5 separate regions of the Homo sapiens genome follow, and all the other regions are linked to region 2. Evidence: promoter capture Hi-C in 16 types of primary human blood cells and fetal thymus (Javierre and others, 2016). All regions are on one chromosome and are shown on one strand. Each heading gives the region's core, a stretch centred on a gene start or on the middle of the fragment in contact. The rest is flanking DNA. Distances are from core to core; before and after follow the strand shown. Region 1 has its middle 9.2 kb from the start of TTC1. Region 2 holds the start of IL12B (interleukin 12B). Region 3 overlaps ADRA1B (adrenoceptor alpha 1B). Region 4 overlaps ADRA1B (adrenoceptor alpha 1B). Region 5 overlaps ADRA1B (adrenoceptor alpha 1B).

What was found. The method cuts DNA at HindIII sites, captures the fragments that hold promoters and counts their contacts. A CHiCAGO score of 5 or more calls a contact.
Region 1: a fragment that was not itself captured here is called in contact with the fragment with the promoter of IL12B in region 2 in 7 of 17 cell types (total CD4 T cells, total CD8 T cells, M0 macrophages and 4 more); the score reaches 7.2 in total CD4 T cells.
Region 3: a fragment that was not itself captured here is called in contact with the fragment with the promoter of IL12B in region 2 in 6 of 17 cell types (megakaryocytes, M2 macrophages, total CD4 T cells and 3 more); the score reaches 10.1 in megakaryocytes.
Region 4: a contact is called between a fragment that was not itself captured here and the fragment with the promoter of IL12B in region 2, in 4 of 17 cell types (M1 macrophages, erythroblasts, M2 macrophages and 1 more). The highest score is 7.1, in M1 macrophages.
Region 5: a contact is called between a fragment that was not itself captured here and the fragment with the promoter of IL12B in region 2, in 1 of 17 cell types (M2 macrophages). The highest score is 5.5, in M2 macrophages.

The regions. Positions count from the first base shown.
Region 1 is chr5:159,998,601-160,001,300 of GRCh38, forward strand. No RefSeq gene overlaps it. Among named protein-coding and RNA genes, the nearest start is that of TTC1, 9.2 kb to the right of the region's middle. RefSeq lists a silencer at 2,413-2,613. The HindIII fragment of the contact is 2,123 bases long and covers 363-2,485 here.
Region 2 is chr5:159,329,078-159,331,777 of GRCh38, forward strand. IL12B (interleukin 12B) reads right to left here and starts at 1,410. Exons shown (of 8, transcript NM_002187.3): 1 at 1,355-1,410. IL12B-AS1 (IL12B antisense RNA 1) reads left to right here and starts at 2,441. Exons shown (of 5, transcript NR_037889.1): 1 at 2,441-2,700. The HindIII fragment of the contact is 5,320 bases long and covers 1-2,700 here.
Region 3 is chr5:159,960,264-159,962,963 of GRCh38, forward strand. All of the region lies in intron 1 of ADRA1B (adrenoceptor alpha 1B), which reads left to right. Among named protein-coding and RNA genes, the nearest start is that of ADRA1B, 45 kb to the left of the region's middle. The HindIII fragment of the contact is 5,552 bases long and covers 1-2,700 here.
Region 4 is chr5:159,920,275-159,922,974 of GRCh38, forward strand. The region is part of intron 1 of ADRA1B (adrenoceptor alpha 1B); the gene reads left to right. Among named protein-coding and RNA genes, the nearest start is that of ADRA1B, 5.1 kb to the left of the region's middle. The HindIII fragment of the contact is 4,619 bases long and covers 1-2,700 here.
Region 5 is chr5:159,940,290-159,942,989 of GRCh38, forward strand. All of the region lies in intron 1 of ADRA1B (adrenoceptor alpha 1B), which reads left to right. Among named protein-coding and RNA genes, the nearest start is that of ADRA1B, 25 kb to the left of the region's middle. The HindIII fragment of the contact is 6,030 bases long and covers 1-2,700 here.

The sequences.
Region 1 (2,700 bases), core at 174-2,673, 670 kb after region 2:
GCTGTTAGGGGAACCAAAGTAATCTTCATGTAAGCACACACGAATGCAGAGCTTACGCATTTTCAATTACACAGGATCGGCTTCTGTAGTGCTGAGTGAATGTTGAGTCTTACTATATTCTTCAACTTGAGACCTATTTCCCAGAGACGCTGATGTTTTTCTGTCACTTCCATGTAAGTGTCCTGCTACAACCATATATTATCTTTTTAGTGCCAGTTTAGGGCTGAATTCATATAAAATTCAATAATAAAGGGGGAACTGCATCTTAAGTGCACTTGGATGGAACTACTTACGAAAATAGAAGATAAAATGAGATTTCGCCAATGGGTCTTGTAGCTCCAATTATCTTAGGCTCTTTGAAAAGCTTGAGTCAATGTACTGTGATTTTAAGTTATAGATCAAACACAGTTCATTTTGTCTACAACTTCTAAACCGGGATAAATGGACAAAGGACAGAAAAATAAGGAAGGTTGGTTTGTCTTGTTCATAATCTGTGTCTTTGGATATCTGTGAATACTTATTAAATATTCATCTAAAAGTCAGCTTAGGTAGCCATAATTAATGTTTCAAATAGCCAAGTAAAGATCTACAAATATATTTTGTTTGTTTGTTTGTTTGTTTTTAGGACAGAGTCTTACTCTGTCACCCAGGCTGGGGTACAGTGGTGTGAACACAGCTGTATTAATCCGTTCTTGTACTGCTATAAAGAAATACCTTACACCCTCTACCTTTGTAGCAGGGGATCTTGCTATGTTGCCCAGGCTGGTCTCAAACTCCTAGGCTCAAGCAACCCTCCCACCCTGGTCTCCTGAGTGGTTGGGATTACAGGTGTGAGTCACCACACCTGGCCCTGTATATGCCTTTTATCTTTGTCACATTTCTTCCTGCCTGAAAGAGGGACATTATGGTCACATTTTAAGGACAGTGCAGGAAAACACTAGAAAGGCCATGGGCCTTATCTGACAGTGTGGATTTGCCATTAAAAAAAAAAAACGTGGGTATGCCACACACTTTTAAAGAAGCAGATCTCACGAGAACTTACTATTGTGACCACAACACCAAGGGGAGATGGTGTTAAACCATGAGAAACTGACCCCATGATCCAATCACCTCCTATCAGGACCCACCACCAGCACTGGAGATTACACTTCAACACGAGATTTAGGTGGGGACACAGATCCAAACCACATCAAAAGCTCACTGCAACTTCAATCTCCTGGGCTCAAGTGATCCACCCACCTCAGCCACCCAAGTAACTGGGACTCCAGGCACATGCCTCCACACTTGGCCAATTTTTCATTTTTTGTAAAGATGGGGTCTATGTTGCCCAGGCTTGTCTTGAACTCCTGGCCTCAAGTGATCCTCCCACCTCAGCCTCCAAAACTGCTGGGATTAGAGGGACGAGCCACCATGCCCAGGCTATGAATATCTTATTTGTTAAATTATGTTTAAGAAAGTACTTCAAATTATGTTTGAAGTACTGCTGAATGCTTTCATAGTCTTTAACTAAAAGACACAGGGTACTGTGAGTGAAGTAGTCTACATGGACAAGCAAGATAGTTCCTAAACAAGCTACTATTTTGATCAGTTTCTCCAAATATTTATGGAAATAGTCTGAGATATTTATGTTGGGGAGGATGTTTGATTTGCACACTGGAAGCTATTCTTTTTTTTTTTCTCGCTTCAAGAGAATTTCAGGATGATGTTGGGGTTTGAGTCATATAAATAATGCCGCTAAAAGTCAGGCTTGAGGAAATTTCTATGCTACTAAAAAAGAAAAAAGAAAAGCCCATTTTTTTTTTTTTTTTTTTTTTGAGACAGAGCGTCTCTCTGTCACCCAGGCTGGACTGCAATGGTGCAATCTTGGCTCACTGAAACCTCCACTTCCCAGGTTGAAGCAAGTCTCTTGCCTCAGCCTCCCGAGTAGCTGAGATTACATACGCCTGCCAACACACCCAGCTAATTTTCATATTTTTAGTGGAGATGGGATTTTACCATGTTGGCCAGGCTGGTCTCAAATTCCTGGCCTCAAGTGATTTGCCCGCATCGGCCTCCCAAAGTGCTGGGATTACAGGCACGAGCCACCATCCCGTCCTGAAAAGTCCACTTTTATATGTATTTTTTAAAAAATCAACTGATTATGCTGGGGGAAGTGGCTCACACCTGTAATCCCAGCACTTTGGGAGGCTGAGGCATGTGGATCACTTATTTTCATTTTCCTTACACAGGGTCTTACTCTGTTGTCCAGGCTGGAGTGCAGTGGCTCAATCATGGCTCACTGCAGCCTTGAACTCCTGGGTTCAAGTGATCCTCCCGCCTCAGCCTCCTGAGTAGCTGGGATTACAGGCATGTGCCACCACACCCAGCTGTTACTTTTTAAAAGACAGGCTCTGAGTATTCTACATATGTTAATTCTCTTATGCATCCCAGTAGCCCTGGGATGAAAATACTGTCATTGTCTCCATGTTACGAATAGGGAATCTGAAGCTTACTTAAGTTAAGGAGCTCGTCCAAGGTGATAGGACTTGTTGGAGCAGAGCTGGGATTCAGTCTTGGCCAGTCTGATATCACAGTTCATCTCTAAAACAGGAGTCAGCACATTACAGACCACAGGCCAAGTCCCCCCTGATGCCTGCTTTTATAAATAAAGTTTTATTGGAACACAGGCATTCTTGTTCATTTATGTGGTGTGCATGGCTG
Region 2 (2,700 bases), core at 160-2,659:
ACCCCACGTTACACACTCCTACTTCCTGGAGTATGCTAAGGGCTTCCCAACACTGGTGCCAACATCAGCATGCCAATGACGCTTGGGTGGGCATCTCTTTTTTAAGTTTTGTTTGTTACCTTTAATTAGAAAAGGGAGTTATTATTAAAGAATAAAAAGATATAGTCACAGATGGCATGGGTGGCACATGCAAAGATCCCTAGTTTGAGGGCCAGGCAGACTTCTAGAACTGTGTGACTCTGGGTGAGTCACTTGGCCCCTTTAAGCCCCACACTCCTGATCTATAAAATGGGCATGCTACTGTGGTAAGGAGTTAGTGACATAATTCACGTGAAGTGTCATGGTGCCTAGATGAAGTCAGGACCCACTATTTGCTCCCCTCCTTCCACAGCATTTACTACAATGGCAACAATACAGTCTCTTCTTTACTGTTTGTCTTCTCTGCCACACTGAGTGAACTCTCTTATGCCATGGATCATGTCTATCTTGTTTTGCACTTTACCCCCAGAGTCCAGCACAGAGGGATTCCATGACTTATTAGTAGCATGAAGGAATGTACGGAAATCATACAATTTCAGATTCCAGTAAACTAAACTCTAAGAGGTTACCCACATTCCATCTAGTATCTTGCAATTCCTTGTTTGAAAAAGTGGGTCATCACCTGGGGTTTAGTAATCCCTTTGTTAAAATGACATTGTTGTTGCACACAATTTTACCTGGGCAAGTAAAAAAACCTTTTTTTCCCCCTTCTCACAGATTTAAAAACTCTTTAGGAAGCAATAATAGCTTTTCATTTTTTAACTGGGGCCAAAGTTAGTTAATCCACAAGAATGGGGATCCCAGCTGTCATTTTGGTTGATATCACAACTGACGACCAAGACCATCACAAATATGGGAGCAAGTCTGATTTGTAACATTATTATAATTATGAATCCAATTACTTTAAGGAATGCACGAAAGGCTTTTTAAAAATTTCAATAGTAAGGCAGGCACCACTCACTTTAGCTCTATACAATCCTTTAACTGATGGGCATTAACATTTAGGAATATACTTTTATACATCAATACACACCACTTCAAAATAAGATAAAACAAACATTTCCACAAACTATGCATACACACAGATCTTGCTATACAGTTATTATTAGGTGGCTTTTAAAATGGACACTGTACATCGGTCCCTAGAGTACTAAGTTTTCACTAATGTTCCAGCAGATGACTCACCAGGGATGCTTCCAGGAATCCACCAACTCCCTCCTGCCAGCTGCTGGGGTAGCACACTAACGGTTTCTACACCTGGACAGCTGCAGGCCCACAGGGAGGGGAGGGAGGTAGGGGCTTGGGAAGTGCTTACCTTGCTCTGGGCAGGACGGAGAGTCCAATGGCCCTGAAACAGATGTTGTTTCTTCTGCTGCTGTTGCTGGTACTGGAACTTATATACTCTACTCCTTTCTGATGGAAACTTAAACTAGAAACTGACTTGTTGCAACATTGAAAACAACTCTCAAAACCTTCTGGGGGAATTTCAAGAAGTTCCTTTTTTGTTTGTCTCTCTCTGTGTGTGTATCAATAACGAGGAGGGAACATAGACATCAAAATCCCAGGTAATGAACTAAGAGGAAATGACTTTTGGGTGGGGAATAAGGAAGGAGATGGAGATGCTAATTTCTCTGGGTTTACATCATGGCCAAGGTGCTTGGAGACAGCACTAGGCAGATTCCCTGGGTTCCACAGATCGAGGAAGAAGGAAGGCCAAGGGGCGGTCAGACGGGAGGCTGAGTTCATGTCGGGATGGAACAACTGTATGCCCAAGGGCTTAAAAACAAAATCCTGGTTCTTCCCAAGTCAGAGAGGATGAGATGAAGGGCAAAGGGTTTAGTACATCTGGGGCGCCTTCCTCCACATTAGTCCTTTAATTTCAGAAACATACTATTTACCACCCATCTTGGCTCCATGCACCTCTCCCCACATTCCCCGAGTGGGAACACACGCGTGCACACACACACCCATGCACATTTCATACAGACACAGACCTGGGGAGATGATAAAACTGCGTGTACCACTAATAAGACTCAAATATGTGCACATCCTGTGCTCATAGGTACTCGCTCATAGGGGCGGATGGGAGCAGAAAGTGAAATACCCTCAGGGAGGCATACAGACAACCACACTCAAGGCACCCCCCCTTGGGCACCCAGACTACATCCTCATTTCATTTGCACACAAATCTATGGCCCTAGGGGCTCCGTGCAGATGCACAGGAATAGCGGAATAAAGATATCTCTCGTGGTGGAATTTCAAGTTGCTAAGAGGTATGCAAAGGTGTACACCGGTGTGGACCCCCCCATCCCCCGCCCAGTCTGCACGTGAACAGGAACATGTACCTGCACGTATACCAGGTACACGCAGACAGATGCGGGCCATCCCCAGAGCCGCCGACAGAGGTCGCTGCGAGACGGTACCCGCGCCCCACAGTCCACCCGCTCCTCGGAGTCCCCCCGCGCCCCGGAGTCCACCCGCGCCCCGGAGTCCACCCGCGCAGGTCCACTTCTCCATCCCTGCTCTCGACCTCCGCCCCTGCGGTGGGGGAAGTTCCTGGGGCGGTGGCTGGGACCAGGCCGGGTTTTAGGCGGGCGCAGATTTCCGGGCTAACTTTCCTCGCCGTCTCAGCGCGGGAAGGGGGAAATGGGAAACCCGGGC
Region 3 (2,700 bases), core at 185-2,684, 630 kb after region 2:
AAAGGGAAAGGGGCCAGAAAAGTCAATGCTCTTGCAGAGAATCAGTCCATTGCAGCCACGTTGAATAGGTCTTATATTCTAACCTAAGCAGTTTGAACTTTATCCTACAAACTAGAGGAGTCACTGGAGGATTGGGGCCAAGGGGGTCAACCCCATAGTGAGGTGGCTCTCAGCCCAGCCTGTGCTCACCCATGAATCCCAAGATACACACAAAAATAGTTCTTAAAAGTAAAATTGTAATGCGGGCTAAGGCAATACTTCTCACCTCAGGATCTTGTTAAAAAGTAGATTTTGAACTGAACATGGGGACACCTGCCTGTAGTTCCAACTACTCAGGAGGCTGAAGCAGGAGGATCACTTGAACCCAGCAATCAAGGCCAGTCTGGCCTGGGCAACATAGCAAGTTCAGATCCAGCCTGGGCAATACAGAAAGACCCCAGCTCTTAAAAAAAAAAAAAAAAAAAGCAGATTCTGATGCACTGGATCAGAGATTCTGCATTTCTAACCAGCACTCAGGTGCTGCTTATCCATGAACCTCATTTTGCATAGCCAGAGGCTAATGCATTTTGGTTTTATTATTTTTATCACTATTATTCATGCAACACCTGCTGGCTGAGTGCCTTTCACGTGTCAGGCACTGTGCTAGGTAGGCCTTGGGCACAGAGAGAAGAGTCAGACATGAACCCTCTTTTCTAGTCATTCACAGTCTAATCAGAGGAGATGAGAATATAGACCTAAGCAATTGTAATCCAAGGTTCAAAGGGACAAATGCCACATTTTAGTTTCAGAAAAAGTGCTTTGACAATTCAGCATTCCCAGTTAAGGGAGAAATTCCCTAGTGTTTAAGGAAATGAATAAATGCTCCTTTTCCTTATTATTAAACGAGTAAAAACCCACACTTCAAAATTGGATTTTAATTAGAGTCCACCACATACTAGGCATGTGACCTTGTTAACCTCTTAAGCCTTAATTTCCTCCTCTGCAAAATGAAATACATAGTAGCAGGGCTGTTGGAGAATTACAATAGAGAATGTTTGTAAATGTGGTACCTTAATAACTGGTTTTGGAATGGAGTTGTTGCAAAAGGTGGCTGTGGTTATTATTGTTTTCAGCATTTGTTTTAAAACTTAACATGGCTCTATTGGCCCAAAGATATTGTATTCACTGGACAAGTTTATGATCTCATTCCAGGGTTAAGTGGCAAATAAAAATGGAAAAACCTTGAAGGGAATTTCCAAATCCAAGGAAACCTTCTTTTACAAAGCTGGTGCTGACAGAAGCAGCATATTATTGTAAATTTTTCCAGTTTTTACTGGACCAAATTGTTTCAGCTGAGGAGATGTGGTTTGCCTGACGGTGTAGCCAAATGCCCCTAATAAGAGCCACACTGCAAAGGAGTTCCACTCCATTTACAAGAGGATCAAAACAGTTTCTCCACCCACTGACTCCCCTGAGGTCATTGGCTTGTTTGACACTGACTGTGAAATAAATCAAATCAAATTTATAATCCCAGAGTCCCAGAATGTCAGGGCCCAGAGGGATGTTAGAAACCACCCAGCCCATGGCTGGCATTTTGTAGACCAGATAAATGATGCTTTAGGTCCCCACGCCACACTGCAGTCTCTGAGCCTGCTCATTGCCTCATTTCTTCAGCCAATATTGAGTGAAGGCCAATGGATTTAAGAATATGTAAAGTCAGCGCTTTGGGAGGCCGAGGCGAGGTTAGGAGTTCAAGACCAGTCTGGTCAACATGATGAAATCCTGTCTCTATCAAAAAATACAAAAATTAGCCATGCGTGATGACATGCACTATAGTCCCAGCTACTCGGGAAGCTGAAGCAGGAGAATCACTTGAACCTGGGAGGTAGAAGTTGCAGTGAGCCGAGATTGCACCACTGTGCTCCAGCCTGGGCAACAGAGTGAGACCCTGTCTCAAAGAAAAAAGAATATGTAAAGAATAAAAAGATTCCTCCATTTATGCCCCACAGTAAGGAGATAGGGACAGGGGACCACAGGCACATCAGGAACTAACGAGGGGGCTGCTGGGGGCTTAATAACAAAAGATTTCATTTAAAAACTGTCTTTCTCAGGGACCTCAGACTGGTGCTGCCATCTGTCTGAGTGGTGCTGCCATCCGTCTGATTTCATTTCAAACCTCTCAAATCATCAGGTTTCATTTTCATTTCAAATCTCTCAAATCATCTCATTTCATTTTAAACCTGTCTCTCACCTGTGAGGGACCTCGCACTGGTGCTGCCGTCTACCCATTTCTTCATCTGTAAAATAGGGATAATCCCACCCTGCTCAGGGAGCTGTTGTCAGGATTAAATGAAACAGGAGCTAAAAAAGTTGGCGGCACATAACAAGGACCCAATACGCACAGCATCTTTTGGCTTGTTTTTCAGCTTTTTTTTTTTTTTTTTTTGAGACAAGGTCTCGCTCTATTGCCCAGCCTGGAATGCAGTGATGCGATCATAGCTCACTTCAGCCTCAACCTCCTGAGCTCAAGCAATCCTCCCACCTCAGCCTCCCGAGTAGCTGGTCCACAGGTGTGGGGGCCACCACACCTGGCTATTTTTTTTTTTTTTTTTTTTTTTTACTTTTTGGCTTGTTTGGTTTTTAGCTTTTATTTCTTTTTCTTTTCTTTCTTTCTTTCTTTTTCTTTTCTTTTCTTTTTTTTTTTTTTTTTGAAACAACGTC
Region 4 (2,700 bases), core at 63-2,562, 590 kb after region 2:
TTCCCAGCCACATCGTAGTGTGAGATGATGTGGCTTCTCTCTGGGTCTTGCTCTTCAAGTCATCAAGCCCACCCTCACTTTCTTCTTACTCACATTACCCCCATCGTCTCTCTCCTTTCTGTCTGTGCCTTTCTGAGACTTTGTCCCCCTAGCATCTCAGGTCCTGAGCTTCCACACAATAAAAAGTGAGAGGTTCTTGCCACCTTGATGCTATCTTGTTTCTCTTCTCCTTGCGATGAAAACTTTCCGACTATCATGCGACGATCTCCCAGAGATCTTCCAGTGATTTGTCCCTGAGCCGACCCCATCAACATCCTTCTTCCCTGAAAACCTAACAGATAATGTGGGGAATGTGGACTCTAGGACTTGAGTTTGAGATGGGCTTCAAAAAGTACTCAAGAGCTTCAAACAAAGAAGGTACTTAATTACTGTTTTCTTAATGATTCAGGAAGAGCATTCCAGCAAAATAGAGATGTGAGTTTCTACTTTCTCTGAGTTGAAATAACACCCAAGCAAAAGCAGCATGATATAGAACAATAACTTCTTTGGAATCTGAAGAAGGTTCCAAATTCTAAATTTTCCGTGAAAACTTTTTCACTCATAAGGGGAGGAAGCAGATGTGGGGGAGGACTGTGTTTGGCAAAGGGAGAAGTGCAGGTAGGAGCAACTTCCAATTGGTGATAGACTTTCAGGTGCCAGGATGGCACAAGATTTCCATAGCTGTGTTTGTTTTCTCCGTGGGAGAGAAGGGTTGGGATCTCTCCTGGGAAAGAGGGAAAATAGCTGTGCCCCCTACAGGATCCTGTTCAGGGGCCCCATTTGTTTTCCTTCATCTCTTATTTTTATTTCTGGAAGCAGGGTTGGGCTGCCTGCAGAGCAGGGCCTCTTGTCTCCTCCAGAGCTCTCCCCACCTGGGACATCCTCTCCAATGTCCTCCCCACCCTTTCCCTGTGGCCTCAGACCAAGTTGGACCAGGGACCAGTGCTCACTTACTCAGGAGCAGGAATGGACTCCACCAAACAAGGACCTCTTTATTTGGCCCCTGGAATCAGGCCAGGGAGGGACAGGAAATAATTGGAATAGAATATAGCAGTATTTCTTACTCCATGAGCCATTTGCAAGATGTCAGAGAATCTTCAGCTGCCCAGCATTAAAATGAAGGCTAACTTCCAGCCCACCTAGGGAAGGCCTTGTCAGGGTCTCAAGAAGTGGCTGAGCTATTGAGGATGTGCATTGCAGCAGTGGGGGAAATTGGGGGATGCAGGGCCGGTAGCAGGAAGTGCTCCGCAGCCAACCAGTAGCTGGGCTTAGTGAGTTGTTTAGAAAACACTGGAACCTTGCCTTGCTCCAAATCTTTCTTCTGTCTTTTAAAATGCTGGAAGGCACCAGGAAGCCATTATTGAACTAACTGCTTTCCCCTCCAAATAAATGAAGGTCAATTTCAAAGAAACAGTTTTGTTCTCCATAGTATTGGAACAAAATAGAAATCCCTCTCTCCATTGATTTGATCCTCCAGCCCTTTCATTCAAATGGGGGCTGACGAATTTCTACCTTCCACAAGCACAAGGTTCTCAGAGATGACTCAAGACAGAGCCACCCCGACAAACACACATTAATCTTCCAGCTCTGAGATTTCAAAACACAGGGATTTGAGTTGCCCACAAATAAATCAATTGGTTTGAGTACTTGGCAAGGGGGAAGTTTTTACACACGGGAATCCTTCCTGGAAGAGGGAAATCCTACTAAAGTAAAACCCATTTGACCATGTATTAAATCACTAATAAGGACTTCCTAAAGCATCTACTACATGCCAGGCACTGTACCAGACACTGGGTTATCAAGCCAAAAACAAACATGGCCCCTGATTGAAGAAGGCTTACAGCCTGGTGAGATTGTATTTGTTATTGGATACATACCATGTACCAGACATTCTGCTAGGCCTCCTACAGACGTTATCTCATTAATCCTCACAGCTACTCTAACAGGCAAAAGTAACTGCTCCCTTTTTATGGATGAATATACTGAAGCTCAGAGAGGTAAAACTTCTGGTCCAAGGTCACACATCAAGTAAGTGATAGGGCCAAAAGTTGAATCCAAGTCCGTCAGAACAGACCCATACCTGTTCCAGCACACCAAGGAAATGTCTGGCCCTTTTGCTGTCTGATAGCAACCTGTTTTCATAGCACATGTACTCCAGGAAACCCAGAACCACCCTGTCAAGAACTAGTAATGATGCTTCTGTTGCAAAATCTGCCTTTCTTCCACTGCCTGCTCACTTCTGAAAAAATAACCAACCTATGACATATCAGGGCAGGTCATCCATGTTCTAGCTCAGGGCTCGATGTTCTCCTGTACTGTGTATGACAAGGGTCTCTCAGGATTGGGCATTTTGTCAGCCACCCCAACCAAAAGAAAAAGTGGGAGGGACCTTGCCCTTCTAGTGATGTGGGTTCACATCTTTAATCATTCATCCATTCACTGAATAAATATGTATCTATTCAGTGGGTACTGTGTCCAGGCATTATACTGACGATATAATGGTGAGCGAAATACTTATATTTCATAGAATTTGGCTCTAGTAGGGAACACAGAGATGTTGAAAAACACACATGCACAAACAAACATGAACATAAACTGCAACAAGTGACTTGAAGAAAAGGAGTGTGATGCTGCTAGAATTCTAAAACAGGGGTTAGTACA
Region 5 (2,700 bases), core at 174-2,673, 610 kb after region 2:
ACCACCCACATCGATATCTAATCAACCTCAATATCTAATCACTCTCAATATCTGATCAGGCCTCTTATCCTCCAGTATCCCCCCTCCAAGTGACATGTGATTACCCTGGCCTGCCTTCAGCAAGAACCCTGTTAGTTCGGTTTAGCCAGAATCACCCTTACTCCTGATGTTTTCTCTTAGTAATTTTCCATCCACTGCCCCCAACCCTGCTCCTTGGCCATAAATTCCCTCTTGCTTATTCTATATTCATAGTTGAGCCCAGTTTGTCTCCCCCACTGCACAGCCCATTGCAGTAGTTCCTATACCTGTCTCAATGGTTCTAAATAAAGTCTTCTTTACTGTGCTTTAAGAAGGATCATTAAATAACATTTTCTTTAACAGTATATATACACACACACAAATGCATACACACACATGCATATACACACACTTACACATACACACACACTCCCCCTCAAGATTTTAGCAGCAATTATCTGTGGTAGTTTTTATTTTCTTTTCCTGCTTCTCTGTAGTGAGCATGAATTGCTCTTGTACAAAGAAACAAAACAATACAAAGACAGTTCTTTAAACTGGTGAGCTAAAAGGAGATACATGAAATGCCAGCTTTCCAAGCATAACTCTGCAAAAGTTGGGAGTTACCTGAATTTCAATGTGGTACAATTCTGATTTAACGCATCACAATCTCTGAATTTCTTCTCTGTGTTGTCTGTGACAAGAGCTAACTTGGAGTTGCAAGGTGCATCCTAGAAGGTGGATCACTTCTCCGATAACTTTATGGGGACCTCTTGGGTACTGTCAGTCTTTACACACAGGAGAGAATAAGTACTGTGCTATCAGATACAGTAGCCACTGGACACATGAGTGTAATCATATTTAAATTAATTAAAATTAAAAATGCAGTTCCTTGGCCACAGGAGTCACCTTGCAAGTGTTAAACAGCTACGTGTGGCTAGTGACTGCCATATTGGACTGCACAGATTTAGAACGTTTTCATCATCACAGAAAGTTCTGCTGGACAGTGCTGAGGTGTTTTTCAGCTTGTTCCAAATATGGCTGAGATGTCTCAAGAATAAACACATCCATTTGGCCCACGAACATGTTCTTCCTTGTTCTTGTTCTAAAAACTCACATTTATGGCAATGTAGAAGGGCACAGCCACTTTGAAAAACAGTTTGGTAGTTCCTCAAAAGTTAAACAAAGGGTTGCCTAATGACCCAGCAGTCCGACTCCTAGTATACACAGGAGAGAATTGGAAACATGTCCTCACACAAAAACTTGCACACAGATGTTCACAGCAGCATTATTCATAATGGCCGAAAGAAGGAAATAACTCAAATGTCCATCTGCTGAAGAACAGATATGCAAAATGTGGTATATCCATACAATGGAATGTTATTTGGCCAAAGAAAAGAGAACAAAGTATGGACACATGCTACCACACAGATGAACCTTGAAACCGATACGCTAAGGGAAAGAAGCCAAACACAAAAGTTCACATTTTGTCATATAATTCTATTAAAACAAAATGTCCAAAATAGGCAAATGCACAGAGAGAGAAAGTAGATGAGTGTTCGCAGAGACTGAGGAGAAGGGGAAATGAGATGACTGCTAATGGGTACTGGGTTTCTTTTTTTTTTTTTTTTTTTTTGAGACAGAGTCTCGCTCTGTCACCCAGGCTAGAGTGCAGTGGCGCGATCTTGGCTCACTGCAAGCTCCAACTCCCAGGTTGACATCATTCTACTGCCTCAGCCTCCCGAGTAGTTGGGACTACAGGTGCCCGCCACCACGCCCAGCTAATTTTTTGTATTTTTAGTAGAGATGGGGTTTCACGGTGTTAGCCAGGATGGTCTTGATCTCCTGACCTCGTGATCCGCCCGCCTCGGCCTCCCAAAGTGCTGGGATTACAGGCGTGAGCCGCCATGGCCGGCCGGGTACTGGGTTTTTTTAGGGGGTGATGAAATTGTCCTGTAATTAGATAGTGGGGTTGGTGTACAACTTTGTGAATTACTAAAAACCGCTAAATTGTACACTTAAAAGGGTAAATTTATGGTATGGGAATTATATAGCTCAATATGACTTTTTGTAAAAAAAGTACTGTTCTAATTGGGAAACAACCTAAAAGTCTATCCGTAAGCAGGTAAGGAAATAAACTCTCACACATTCATACAGTGGACTGTGATACAGCAGTTAGAAGGAATGAATTAGATCTGGATACTAATTAAGAAAGATCTTTAAGATAAATTGTTGGCTGGCCACACCTGTAATCCCACCACTCTGGGAGGCTAAGGCGGGAGGAACACTTGAGCCCAGGAGTTCCAGAGCAGCCTGGGCAACACAGTGAGACCCTCATCTCTACAAACACACAAAAAAGACAAATTGTTGGGGGGAGAAACAAGTTTCAGAGCATTGCATATAGTATGAAATGTTACATTTTTTAAATCCCAAATATTCTATTTTCTATGAGTATGTGTATGGAAATACATAGAAAAAAACTGGAAGGTAATACACCAAAAAGATGAAAATAGTTCCCCATAAAGTAGGGATACGAAATTAGGGATGGTAGTCAAAAAAAATTGTTCTTAATTTTTAAAAGAAAAAGTATTCATTTATTACATGTGTAATTAATAATTTGTAATGCTTTCTTTATTAAAATAAAAACATAAATTAGATCATCTTTGGGAGGCCAAGGTGGGAGGA